2 separate regions of the Homo sapiens genome follow, and region 1 is linked to region 2. Evidence: promoter capture Hi-C in 16 types of primary human blood cells and fetal thymus (Javierre and others, 2016). All regions are on one chromosome and are shown on one strand. The core of a region is centred on a gene start or on the middle of the fragment in contact, and the rest is flanking DNA. Distances in the headings are between cores, read along the strand shown.

What was found. Contacts are between HindIII fragments. The CHiCAGO score rates a contact against its expected background, and 5 or more counts as called.
Region 1: a contact is called between a fragment that was not itself captured here and the fragment with the promoter of ALG14-AS1 in region 2, in 3 of 17 cell types (endothelial precursors, activated CD4 T cells and fetal thymus). The highest score is 5.5, in endothelial precursors.

What each region holds. Positions count from the first base shown.
Region 1 is chr1:94,907,543-94,914,875 of GRCh38, forward strand. All of the region lies in intron 1 of CNN3 (calponin 3), which reads right to left. Among named protein-coding and RNA genes, the nearest start is that of CNN3-DT, 15 kb to the right of the region's middle. RefSeq lists enhancers at 2,882-3,818, 3,017-4,216. The HindIII fragment of the contact is 1,164 bases long and covers 2,778-3,941 here.
Region 2 is chr1:95,060,186-95,066,633 of GRCh38, forward strand. It overlaps ALG14-AS1 (ALG14 antisense RNA 1), which reads left to right and starts at 1,411. Exons shown (of 2, transcript NR_132786.1): 1 at 1,411-2,004. It overlaps ALG14 (ALG14 UDP-N-acetylglucosaminyltransferase subunit), which reads right to left. Exons shown (of 4, transcript NM_144988.4): 2 at 4,681-4,832. The HindIII fragment of the contact is 7,319 bases long and covers 1-1,555 here.

The DNA.
Region 1 (7,333 bases), core at 2,110-4,609, 150 kb before region 2:
AATTTCACTCTAATTTACTTAAAAATTACTCTTCCTGACAGGGCGCAGTGGCTCACGCCTGTAATCCCAGCATTCTGGGAGGCCAAGGTGGGCAGATCGTGAGGTCAGGAGATCAAGACCATCCTGGCTAACACGGTGAAACCCTGTCTCTGCTAAAAATACAAAAAATTAGACGGGTGTGGTGGCGGGCGCCTGTAGTCCCAGCTACTTGGGAGGCTGAGGCAGGAGAATGGTGTGAACCCGGGAGGCGGGGCTTGCAGTGAGCTGAGATGGTGCCACTGCACTGCAGCCTGGGCAACAGAGCAAGACTCCGTCTCAAAAATAAGAAATAAAAATAAAATAAAAATTACTCTTCCAAGTTGTTGATAAACATCCTTTTCTTTATTCTTCTTCAAGATTTATTTTCTTGGCCTTCCCAAGCTGCTTTCGCAGACTTTCTGCCTGGCTCTTTCAAATCCACAGCAGCCCCTCTCTTTATATGCCCACCTTCCTTTCTTAAACACGCACACATTCTCCAAGCAGTGCCTGACAGCCTTCTTTGCATCAAGGAGCACTTACAAATGATCCAGAGACCGAGGAGAATACTGTCTAGGCACACCTGCTGGAGACTCCTCCCCGAAACTCTCCAACATCCCTCTAGCCAGATACAATCAACATGTGAAGATAATGAAGACCAAGAAAAAAGCCTCCTAGGGCATAGGATACAGCTGATCCTCCTCCCTACATTCAGCGATTGGCCTGCTCTGCTCTCGCTCCTCCGACAGCTTCACCTGCTCCTCTTCATGTTCCTGTGCCTGGGTCCAGGGCTCATCCTGTTGTGGTCGTGGTGGCGGCTTCAGCCCTTAGAGCTTCCCTTGGCTCTCTCCTCAGGACAGCTAAGAGCACCAGTGTGGAGTCACCCTTCAGTTCAAATGCAGATCAGTCCTTTCTTGTTTCATGACCTTTCTTTAGCCCTCACTTTCTTTTGTAATTCTAAAATAATAATTGGTTTTTTGTTGTTGTTTGTTTGTTTTTTTGAGACGGAGTCTCGCTCTGTCACCCAAGCTGGAGTGCCATAGCGTGATCTTGGCCCACTGCAACCTCCACCTCCCGGGTTCAAGCGATTCTCCTGCCTCAACCTCCTGAGTAGTTGGGATTACAGGTGCCCACCACCACACCCAGCTAATTTTTGTATTTTTAGTAGAGATGGGGTTTCGCCATGTTGGTCAGGCTGGTCTTGAACTCCTGACTTCAGGTGATCCGCCCACCTCAGCCTCCCAAAGTGCTGGGATTACGCCCAGCCAATTCCAAAATAATAATTTTTTTAAAAAAATTAGGCTGGGCCAGGCATGGTGGCTCAGGCCTGTAATCCTGCAACTTTGGGAGGCTGAGGCAGGAGGAATCCTTGAGCCCAGGAGTTCGAGACCAGCCAGGGCAATATAGGGAGCCCGTCTCTTTAAAAAAAAAAAAAAAAAAATAGGCCAGGTGGGTGGCTCATGCCTGTAATCCTAGCACTTTGGGAGGCCAAGGCAGGAGGATTGCTTGAAGCCAGGAGTTCCAGGTTGCAGTGACTGATAATCATGTCACTGCACTACAGCCTGGGTGGCAAAGTGAGACTCTGTCTTTAAAACAAAAATAAACAAATAAATGATATACAAGTATGTAGCGCATGCATTCTCAACAGGGGTGGTGGTGTCCCAAAGAGGTGAAAAGTGTTTCTTGTGGTGGTTTCTACCAATGGTGAAAAAAATCTTAAGACAATACAAAAACTTGGGACCCTCCAAAGCTCAACTCTACCCAACAAAATCTTATTCCTTTGTACTAAATCTAGCAAGGGATAGGAGGTAACTAGGAACAATGTCTAAAACAACTCTTGGAGAAGGTGATCATGAAAACAAGGTTAAGAAACACTGAGATAACACTAAAATGTACAAGTCTCTCCCCCCACAAATCACACTCCATTCCCAGAGGGAAGGGCCTATCCTTCAGCCAATTATTCTTCCAGCCCACAGGCACACATATCACATATCACTATTAATCATATATCCAAGAGCTCTGGACTAAGACCACCTTCAGAAACACAACCCCGAGGGCCTATGTGTCCTAACAGTGAAGGCAGACACTAGAGCAGATACAAGCCTACCAGCTGCTGGGAAACAGCCATGCCCCTCCCTGGCTCTGAAATTTGAGAAGCTTCCCCCTAAGAACCCTCAGAAAGGGAGAAAGAGTAAAGGGAGACCTAGCTTCAAAAAGCACCTCCACAGCTGACCCAAAAGCTCGATTCCTGCGCTGTTGAATGGTACTTCTCGGTGTACGCCGAGAGCATTCAGCTCAAGTACCATTTGAAAAAAAGATGGGGGCACATCTGCCATGAGGTAGAGTGATGACATTCATGTACAAGAACTGTCTGATGCCCCCATTACACCCAGGACATTCCAGAATCTACTGAAGAATGAAGACTGCTTGTTTTTCACATGGATTCCTTCTCACAATGTATTATCATCACAGAGCTTGTTCAAACCTGGAAGCAGACAATTCCTGGTTATTGTCCCCAGTGATTACAACAGTCTCCCTAATTTCAGCTGTGGCTCCCCGTTTTGAGCCACCAGGATAATCCTGCATTACTCCAAACTCTCTAAGTAAACTCGTATTCAACATTAGCTTCTGTTTTTCAAGTGTTCCGTGTGTTCCTTAGATTCTTCTTTCATCTTCTTTCTCCATTAATCCTTCTTTCTGTCCTTCATCTAAATGGCTAGTTCATATCAGGCACAGTTCAAAGGCAAAGTCTCTGTCCTAAAAGCTTACATTCTAGCAGAAAGAGACAAATATTAAATACGGTGTATTAAAGAGTTCACAAAAATATATATAAAATAGGGTGTTTAAAATAAAGAGAGAACAATGGGGGCTAACATGGTCCCAAAATAGGAACCAAATAGATTTCCATCTCAAGTATCAAGATTCCTCCTCTCCTTCCTTCTCACTATCACTTGCTATTCTTGGTATCTCATGCAAGGACAATGAACAGGTTTCAACATTTTCATCTACCCTGTCTCTCCGCAATGAATCCTATAAACATTTACTGAAGATCACACGCTTTCAAGTCAAACTTCAAAACCCTGTGTTCCCAAGTTCCAGTGTGACCTTGGCAAGTAACTGAACCCAGGTCACCCCATTTCTTGTGGGTAGACTCCTTCCTTCCAGGGCCACTGTGAGGATGAAGCCTGTTCAATAGGAATGGAACCCACCGCAATACCTGACACACAACAGCATGCACGCCCTCCAATTTTATCAGCTCCAGGTACAGAGCATTCTATTAACCAAACCCCACTGCAACTTGTTCAATCCATTGTTTGCAATAGCAAAGAAAACCCCACTGCAGACAGGCTCACCTGGGATGCCAGCCTTCACCACTGTCCACTCCCTTTACCACTCTTCCTGAGGCTGGTTCCTGCCTCTCTGTCTTTGCTAAAGCTCTTCTCTCTGCTTAGAATGTGTTTGCATCCCGAATTCTTATTCTTTTTCAGATTGTTGCTGACAAAAAGGACAAAGGAACTATTTTACAAAATCAGGCATGTATCTTATGGGGGGTGGGAGTGGGAATTCTAGAGAAAAACATTTTACATTTGGGACAGTGATGTCAAGATAGAATGCATGCTTTTCTTGAGGTCACCACAGAATCTAAGACTCATTCCATGGCACGAACGTGCTAAAGATTTGATGCGGAGGAACTAGACATTTAAAAGCTGTGGAAAATCATGCTCGCCTCAGGTAAACAGAAGTAAAGTCCAGGAGCATTTTAAAGCCAGGTCCTCCTCTCAGAGGTACAACTGTGTCTTCAGATCAAGGTATCAGCATATGGCACCAACCAGCACAAATTTTTCCCCTCCAAATGTCTATAATCAGGTAAATACAAAAACATTATGACTCAATATACAAATATTGTGAGACTGACAAGAAATTAAAGCTTCAAAAATTACTAGGACGGGTGCAGTGGCTCACACCAGCAATTTGGGAGGCCAACACTGGAGGATCACTTGAGTCCTTTGAGACTAGCCTGGGCAACATAGTGAGACCCTGTCTCTACAAAACCCACAAAAATTAGCTGGGCATGATGGCACACACCTGTGGTTCCAGCAACTTGGGAGGCTGAGGTGGGAGGATCACTTGAGCCTGGGAGGTCAAGGCTGCAGTGAGCAGAGACTGTGCTACTACACTCCAGCCTGAGTAACAGAGGGAGACCCTGTCTCAAAAAAAATATAAATAAGCCAGGCACAGTGGCTCATGCCTGTAGTAATCCCAGCACTTTGGGAGGCCGAGGCAGATGGATCACCTGAGGTCAGGAGTTTGAGCTCAACTTCGCTAACATGGTGAAACCCTGTTTCTACTACAAAAAAATTAGCTGGGCGTGGTGGCACACATCTGTAGCGCCTGTAATCCCAGCTACTGAGGCAGGAGAATCGCTTGAGCCTGGGAGGCGGAGGTTGCAGTGAGCCAAGATCATGCCATTGCACTCCAGCTTGGGCAACAAGAGTGAAATTCCATCTCAAAAAAAAAAATTTTATATATATGATTAAAGAGGAGCTGGTCCAGTGCCTAAAGCAAAGAGTATAACAAACGGTAGAAAGATGCAGAGCTAACAGAATGTCAATTTTGTCTTCTCTGTCTAGAAAATGACCTTTAGACTGCAAAGCTTAGAACACATATAGTTTATAGTGGATTTTTGAAAGTTCAAATCTAAACAAGGAGCGAACAAGTATAGACACTGGATTCCCAGAAGAATCTAGACTCAGAAATAACAAGTAACAAAAAAGTGGGTATCAAGCAGCTCACTGTGAGAGAAGCCTTGGCAAACGGTAGTAACTAGAACCTAGAGAGAAGCCTGCTCCCACTCCATCCCCACCCAGAGGGCAAGGATCTATTACTGGCTGAAGAGCCCGGCAGGCGCCCTCCTAGAGTGGACTCTTGGGGAGAGAGTGTGCAAGCAAGCACTCAGGGAGAAGGGCAGCCATCACCAAGGCTGCATGGACACACAAGGCATGTCCAAGAACACCTGCCCATGTCCCCTCCTTGAGGGGAGGTCAGGCTCCTGTTCATCTTAGTAATCCTCATGCCCATGCCTGATACATAGTGGGCACTCAATCCATGATTTTTCACCCACTGACAGGATTACCAGCCTAGGGAAATGCCTCAGATTTAAAGATCTATCTTGTTTCGGAAAGGCATCTGCATTTGAATGTCACTGCCTTTTATGGGCGTCACATCTCCTTGATCTGCCAATCTGGTAATCTTAGATGGCCCACTAGGGATATAATTGCATTACTTTCTCATAAAAGTTCCTTATGTCTAGCGCACTCCTGAAGTCCAGTTTAGTAACCCTAGAAGGAGGGTACAGTCAGAAGGAACACCATGCCCACTGTGCTGATTATGTCATGGCAGAGGAAACTCGTGGTGATGTGTACCTCAATGTTTGGATTTAGATGTGTTCTCTTCTGTTTTGGTCATTAATGACTTGGAAACTACTTGGCATACTTATTAAGGAAACTGGGAATCAGAAGGATCTTTCTTACGTTAATACACAGTTTATTCAAAATATATGTCAAATCCTGCCCCAAAGTTTTAGAACTAGTAACACTTACTCAGTGAGTTGAGTAAGTTAAAAAGCCAACACTATCTTGGTCTGCATAGTTATACAATTCTTCATAAAATAGTATTGCTTATTTGTTTAAATCAAAACAGCCCCATGAGGTAACCAAGGAAAGCATTATTTATAAGAAACGGGTGCGCATGGAGTTCATGTGAGCCATAAAACCTCCCAGAGTGATCATCACCATACTTTATAGACTGGAGAAGTCAATTTGACAAAGCAAGGATTAGAATCCTTCTTCTACACAGAGTTACCTTGTCTACCTGGCCAAGTGATTCTGTTGGTTAAAACAGGAGGAGCTAAAGCTTTGTAATCAAAGGAAGTCAGTTACCAATCCCAGTGTACTCTGGTAGGTTAAACCACATCTGTGGCAATACTATGATCAATTCTGAGTGATGCATTCTGAAGGGACACTGATAAGCTGACATCAGTTTCTAGAAGGAGTAAACTAGGTGGGGAAGGGATTAGAAAAACCATATATAGCCTATTATGAGAAACTGGCTAGCCAGGAGTGGCTACATATGACCTGGAAGTTTAGGAGAGGCAGGTTAGCTCCCATCTAAATATTTAGATGGAAGTCATATAGAAGAGAGAGTTGATTTATTCTGAGTGACACACAGAGGACAGGCCAGGGAAATATATGGAGAAATTCCTGAGAGATGGACTAGAAGCAAACAGGCATGGAAAAATATCATGTTTTGAGTGCCAATGAAGCACAGGCAGGAAGAGATGACCTCCAAGAAAGCTTGTTGGAGAACATTCTCTCACTGGGAAGAAGGCCAGCCGGGTCTTGAATTTTAGAGATCTGTAGAGATTTTGCTGAAAGGAGATCTTAGCTGAAGCCCCACAGGTAAAAAGAGGTGAAAATAGAGATGTTCCTCAAGTTTTTGTTTTCTTTGTCTCACCACTAGAATATTTAAGAGTCTAACAAACTCATTCCCGCATTTGTAGGTATCAGCTCTTTGCCACTCTCCAGATTGTCAAGCACTGTCTCTTCAGCAGGACCTCTAGGTGCCTCCAAAATAACCCTTGAGTCAGGAGCATGGGTAACACTGAAGAACTGTCATTTATCTTTCCATAACGACAAGGCACATGACCTGTTTGCAACTTTTCTGTAGTTTCAGAATGTACACTCACTCCTCATCAACTCTTCAGCAAGCCCGCTCCATAGGACAAGCCTCAGTCTACTGTGACTCAAGGAAGGCATGAAATCCACCTCAACGTCATTGTCCCAAAAGTTCGCTGTATTGTTCTGAAGGAACTTGTCTCAACCAGCCTGGGGAACCCTCATCTCACAGATCACTGACCACCCGCATCCCCATGCTCCCATCTGCCAACCCCAAAACTGAGTCGAAACACCACGCGGCTCCTTTACTGAAGGTTATTATTGGGACAAGGCATGAAAGTGGGCCAAGGAGAAATGGGATCTCAGCCCTTTGGGTCAGCCTTAGTAAATCTGGAACTCCTCTTGGAGTCTAGATCCAGGTCTAGATCTCAGATTGCAAATGCTTTTTTGCTTACTACAATGGAGTCTGTCCATTTGAGAAAGGTGGCTTTACACAACCAGCTATGAACAGAGAGGAAATCGAATTTTAAACATGGGATAGATGCTGATGGAATCTTACAGATATGTTAACTGTGCAAAAGAGCACCATTTTTTCCCCAATGAAAATGAGAAAATATGACATTTCCATTACAAAGTAGGATAGA
Region 2 (6,448 bases), core at 161-2,660:
ACCCAGTGGTGGCCAGCAGAAATGTTCACGCTATCTCCCTCAACAGCTCATTTGCATCTCTGCAGAGCTCTTCCCAGCTTCAGATTCATGAGTAGAGGCTCTTTTAGGAATGGAGCAGAATTTTCTCTCTAACAGTGGCTGCATTGCCCCAGTAGGCGACTGTTAGTAAAAGGAAGTTGAACAGAGATGCTTAGTCCTACATTGCACTTCGAAAATACAAAATAATGGCACTATAAAAATCCAAAATCTGGCTGGGCACAGTGGCTCACGCCTGTAATCCCAGCACTTTGGAAGGCTGAGGTGGGCAGATCACGAGGTCAGGAGATCGAGACCATCCTGGCCAACATGGTGAAACCCTGTCTCTATTAAAAAAAAAAAAAAATAGCCAGACATGATAGTAGGCACCTGTACTCCCAGCTACTCAGGAGGCTGAGGCAGGAGAATCGCTTGAACCTGGGAGGTGGAGACTACAGTGAGCTGAGATCACACGACTGCACTCCAGCCTGGGTGACAAAGTGAGACTCTGTTTAAAAAAAAAACAACAAATAAATAAAAATAAAAATCCAAAATATTTTTATAGTTAAGACTATTAATGTGAAGCAAACCCAACTTACTTGGTTCTAAGTGTTGTGATGCACAGTATATAACTACTGTCCCCCTAAAATTCATGTCCACCTGGAATCTATGAATGTGACCTTATTTAGAAATAAGAGCACTGCAGATATGATCAAGTTAAGATGAGGTCCTTCTGAATTAGAGTGGGCCCTAAATCCAACCGGTATCCTCATAAAAAAGGCATGTGAAGACAGAGATACAGAAAAGGTCATATGATGGTGGAAGCCGAGATTAGAGTGACGTAGCTGCAAGCTAAGGAAGGCCAAGCATTGCTGGCCACCACTAGAAGCCAGGAGGAAGCAAGGAGGGATTCTTCTTCAGAACCTCCGGAGGGAGTATGGCCCCATGACACCTTGATTTCAGACTTCTACCCTTCAGAGCTATGAGAAAATACATTTCTGTTATTTTAAGCCACCCAGTTTATGGGTGGCAAAAACCCAGTTTTGTTACAGCAACCCTAAGAAACTAATACAGTATTGATTCCTAAAACAAAAACGAAATCACTTTGGCTTATTTTCCACAGAGGAAAAAAAGTACCACACATTTTGCTATAGCTGAATGATAGCAAGCAGATTTATATACCAATCTTGTTTGACGTGGATTTTTTGAGAATACATTTTAGTAGTATGTTAGTTGGGGATAAGGTTTACAAATGACCAAAAGTTAACACAAACAGCCTTGAGAGAGAGAGAGAGAGAGAGTGTGCGTATGTCACAAAGGTGGGAACAAAGGGAGTGGGGTAGGGTTCTAGGAGTGGGTCCTGATTTCCCAAGAAAAGAACCACCAATCCAGGACCAACACAGCTATAGCAGGGCCTCTTGAGCCACTGAAGGCAGCACCAGACACTGGCTTCTCCTCTCTTCCTGTACATTATCTTCATTCTTCTATCTATAGACTACCTTTATCTTCTAAGTGAAAACATGACTGTCAGCAGCTTTCAAGCTTTATCATTTACAGAGCTTGCCTGAAGACAGACTGATTCCATTCTCTAGGTCTCCAAGCCCAGAAAGCTCAGAGAAAGACTTCGATTGGTCTGAGTTAGGCCAGCTGTCCACCCCTGAACTATCCAGAGCAGCCCTGCAGCTGGGCCGTTCCCAGAGAGAGGGATGGATAAAGGCACTCACTCTACATAAGGAACAGCTCTAGTTTCCTTCCTTAATTAAGAAGTAGTTTCACTTAAAAAAAAAAATCTCTAAACACTGACTAAAATGCTATAATGAAGTGAGCAACCAGGGGTAAAGAAGTACTAATAATTTCAAAGGCAGACACAAGTATGATTTGGAGAAGAAACAGCAGTCATAGATAAATCAAATTATCAATAAACGTAACACATTGATAGAGAGCTTTAATGAAGAGCCAATAAGCACATGAACAGGATGCTTCGTGTATGTAAGTAAAAATAAAATAATTTTCACTATTGGAATTCAACGAAAAACTGCTTTCTCTATTTAAAAGAATAAAAAATATGCAAAAAATTAAGCAACCATTTTTTTTCCTTCAACTTTTAAGTTCCAGGGTATGTGTGCAGGATGTGCAGGTTTATTACACAGGTAAACGTGTGCCATGGTGGTTTGCTGCACAAATTAATCCATTACCTAGGTATTAAGTCCAGCATCCACTAACTATTCTTCCTGATGCTCTACCTCCCCCAACCCCTCCCTTCAACAGGCCCCAATGTGTGTTGTTCCCCCATATGTACCCATGTATTCTCATTGTTCAGCTCCTACTTATAAGTGAAAACGTGTAGTATTTAGTTTTCTGTTCCTGCATTAGTTTGCTGAGGATAACGGCTTCTGGCTCCATCCATATCCCTGCAAAGGACATGATCTTGTTCCTTTTTATTGCTGCATAGTATTTCATAGTGTATATGTACCACATTTTCTTTATCCATTCTATCATTGATGGGCATTTGGGTTGATTCCATGTCTTTGCTATTGTGAATAGTGCTGCAGTGAACATATGTGTGCATGTATCTTTACAACAGAATGATTTACATTCCTTTGGGTATATACCCAGCAATGGGATTGCTAGGTCAAGTGGTATTTCTGCCTCTAGATTTCTGAGGAATCGCCACACTATCTTCCACAATGGTTGAACTAATTTACATTCCCACCAATACTGTAAAAGCATTCCTTTTTCTCCACAACCTCACCAACATCTGTTGTTTCTGGACTTTTTAATAATCGCCATTCTGAGTGGTGTGAGATGGTATCTCATTGTGGTTTTGATTTGCGTTTCTCTAATGATCAGTGATGTTGAGCTTTCTTTCATATGTTTGTTGGCTGCATGAATGTCTTCTTTTGAGAAGTGTCTGTTCATGTCCTTTGCCCACTTTTTAATAACAGTTTTTTTCTTGTAAATTTGTTTAAGTTCCTTGTAGACTCTGTATATTAGACCTTTGTCAGATGGACATATTGCAAAAATTTTCTCCAATCCTGTAGGTTGTCTGTTCACTCTGATGAGTTTCTTTTGCTGTGCACAAGCTCTTTAGTTTAATTAGATCACATTTTTCAATTTTTACTTTTGTTGCAATTGCTTTTGGCATTTTCATCATAAAATCTTTGCCCATGCTGGTGTCCTGAATACTACTGCTTAGATTTTCTTCTAGGGTTTTTATAATTTTGGGTTTTACATTTATGTCTTTAATCCACCTTGAGTTAGTTTCTGTATAAAGTGTAAGGAAGGAATCCAGCTTCAATTTTCTGCATATGGCTAGCCAGTTCAACTCCTTGCAAAATAGAAAATTCTTTCCCCATTGTTCGTTTTTGTCAGGTTTGTAGATCAGATGGTTGTAAATGTGTGGTCTTATTTCTGAGTTCTCTATTCTGTTCCATTGGTCTGTATCTGTTTTTGTACAAGTATCACGCTGTTTTGGTTACTGTAGCCTTGTAGTATAGTTTGAAGTCAGGTAGCATGATGCCTCCAGCTTTGTTCTTTTTGCTTAGGATTGTCTTGGCTATTTGGGCTCCTTTTTGGTTCCATATGAATTTTAAAATAGTTTCTTATAATTCTGTGAAGAATGTAAATGGTGGTTTAATGGGAATAGCATTGAATCTATAAATTACTTTGGGCAGTATAGCCATTTCACAATATTGATTCTTCCTATCCATGAGCATGGAATGTATTTCCATTTGTTTGTGTCCTCTCTGATTTCACTGAGCAGTGGTTTGTAGCTCTCCTTGAAGAGGTCCTTCACTTCCCTTGTTAGCTATATTCCTAGGTATTTTATTCTTTTTGCAGTGATTGTGAATGGGAGTTCATTCATGATTTGGGTTTCGGCTTGCCTGTTGTTGGTGTATAGGAATGCTAGTGATTCTGCACATTGATTTTGTTTCCTGAGACTTGGCTAAAGTTGCTTATCAGCTTAAGAAGTTTTTGGGCTGAGACAATGGGATTTTCTAGATATAGGATCATGTCATCTGCAAGCAAGGATAATTTGACTTCCTCTCTCCCTATCTGAATACACTTCATTTCTTTCTCTTTCCTGATTGCCCTGGCCAGAACTTCCAATACTATGTTGAATAGGAGTGGTGAGAGAGGGCATCTTTGTCTCGTGCTAATTTTCAAGGGGAATGCTTCCAGCTTTTGTCCATTCAGTATGATATTGGCTCTGGGTTTGTCATATATGGCTCTTATTATTTTGAGGTATGTTCCTTCAATACCTAGATTATTGACAGTTTTTAACACGAAAGGATGTTGAATTTTATCAAAGGCCTTTTCTGTGTCTATTGAGATAATTACGTCGTTTTTGTCTTTAGTTCTGTTTATGTGATGAATTACATTTATTGATTTGCGTATGTTGAATCAACCTTGCATCCCGGGTATGAAGCCAACTTGATCATGGTGGATAAACTTTTTGATGTGCTAAGCAACCATTTTTTAATTTGAAGATTTATTTTATAGAAATTCATATCTTTTGGTAGCAAAGGAAATGTATTTCATCACCAGCAAACATTTGACTGCCCATTGTGGGTAGGGCACTGAAGTGCCATGAGATTATTACTAGAGACAATTAAACTCAATGTGCAACTTGTAATTTTCTTAGAAATAGAAATTGTCACTTACCATGTTACTAGGGTCTCTATCAGCTCGATCTAGTTCAAAAGAATTTATTTTATTGGCACTCATTTCATCAGTGTCAGCAATGACATAATGTCTAGGTGAGTAGGCATTGGACAAGCTCCCAAGCAGCCTCAGGATCTCAGTGGTATGCCCACCTGGAAAAAATATCAGAAGTCCTAAGATTAAGAAACCCACAATGGACATATCCATTTGACCATGTTATACCAATATCATGGTTTCAGGTTGGGGGTGGGGGGGCACTGTAATTGTATATTTCTCAGAAGACACAAGGAACATTTGAAAACAATAAATCTATGCCCTCGTATAAATACAACTTTTATATCAAAAGCAGATAATACATGTATAAAAATAAAATCAGCACTAGCAGTAGGTACTAAGGAAGGCACAAAACAGTATAAGACATAGCTCTTGCTATCAAGAAGACTGGTGAGAAAGGGGCAAGACACATATATGAAGACAAAGAAGATGCAAGACAGTAAGAAAAACTAAAATGTGAAGGGTAAGCAAATGGTTATGAAAAATCAATGCCTTAAAAATAAGGAAGAACCCCGGAAAAGGCTGAGATGACTTGAAAGGTGAAGATAATGGAGAGATAGGAGTAGGGAGGCCACTGGGTGGAGATGGGGATTGTTAGGGCATGAGATGACAAGATCTGAAACATGTGTTCAAAGAGTGATAGCAATACTGGGAAGAAGGGTACAGGTGAAATAAGGCACGAAAGCAGGATGGGAAAAGGGAAGCCAGTCACTGAAGGTTCTATGTAGAGAAGTAAGGTGAAGGGGGCATGAGCGCTGATCAGCAGGGCTTGGGCCTTCCTAAGAAACATCTTTTGTTCACCACTGTAACCCCAGCTCCTATGAGAGGTCTCAGCACACTGCAGGTCCTCAAATATTTATCAGCTTCACCAAATGAGTAATGTTCAGTTTCTGAAATAATATAATCTCCAAAATTTTAATACATTAATTTTGAAAGCATAAATTTAAAAATCAACTATGTTCATTGAGACAATGAAAACATTGTTTATGAAAACAACAATAGAATATCTACCTATCTATAAACGATTTAAGCACAACAGTCAAACTCCTTATCAAGGAGCCCTATCACACCCATTTCAGTCTCGTTTCACAAGCTCTCTGCCTCAGTCAGGTTGATGTCTTCAACATTCTCTGCATTCACCTTATTCGTTACTCACTCCTTGCCTCTGGTCATGCTGCTCCCCCTACCTACAAGGCTTCCTCCACCCCACCTCCCTTATTGTTGTAAGAAAGAGTATATAGTGATACAAGAACACAAACAAAGATAAATTAAACATGAGTTTTCCCCCAACACAAATTCCCTCCACCCCCTCACCTCCCCCCAGGTGGAGTTTCACGCTTGTTGCCCAGGCTGGAATACAATTGTGTGATCTCGGCTCATTGCAACCTCCACCTCCCAGGTTCAGGCGACTCTCCTGCCTCAGCCTCCCGAGTAGCTGCAATTACATGCGTGTGCCACCACGCCCGGCTAATTTTTGTATTTTTAGTAGAGACAGAGTTTCACCACATTAGTCAGACTGGTCTTGAACTCCTGACCTCAGGTGATCCACCCACTCGGCCTCCCAAAGTACTGGGATTACAGGCGTGAGCCACCATGCCAAGCCCACATTTTTTTTTAATAGTAGAAAGGAAAGGATTTCGTTCTAGATCCCAGAAGGAATTATATATAGAAACAAATTTGGCATAGATTTAGTGTGAATTTCAGGAATTAAAAT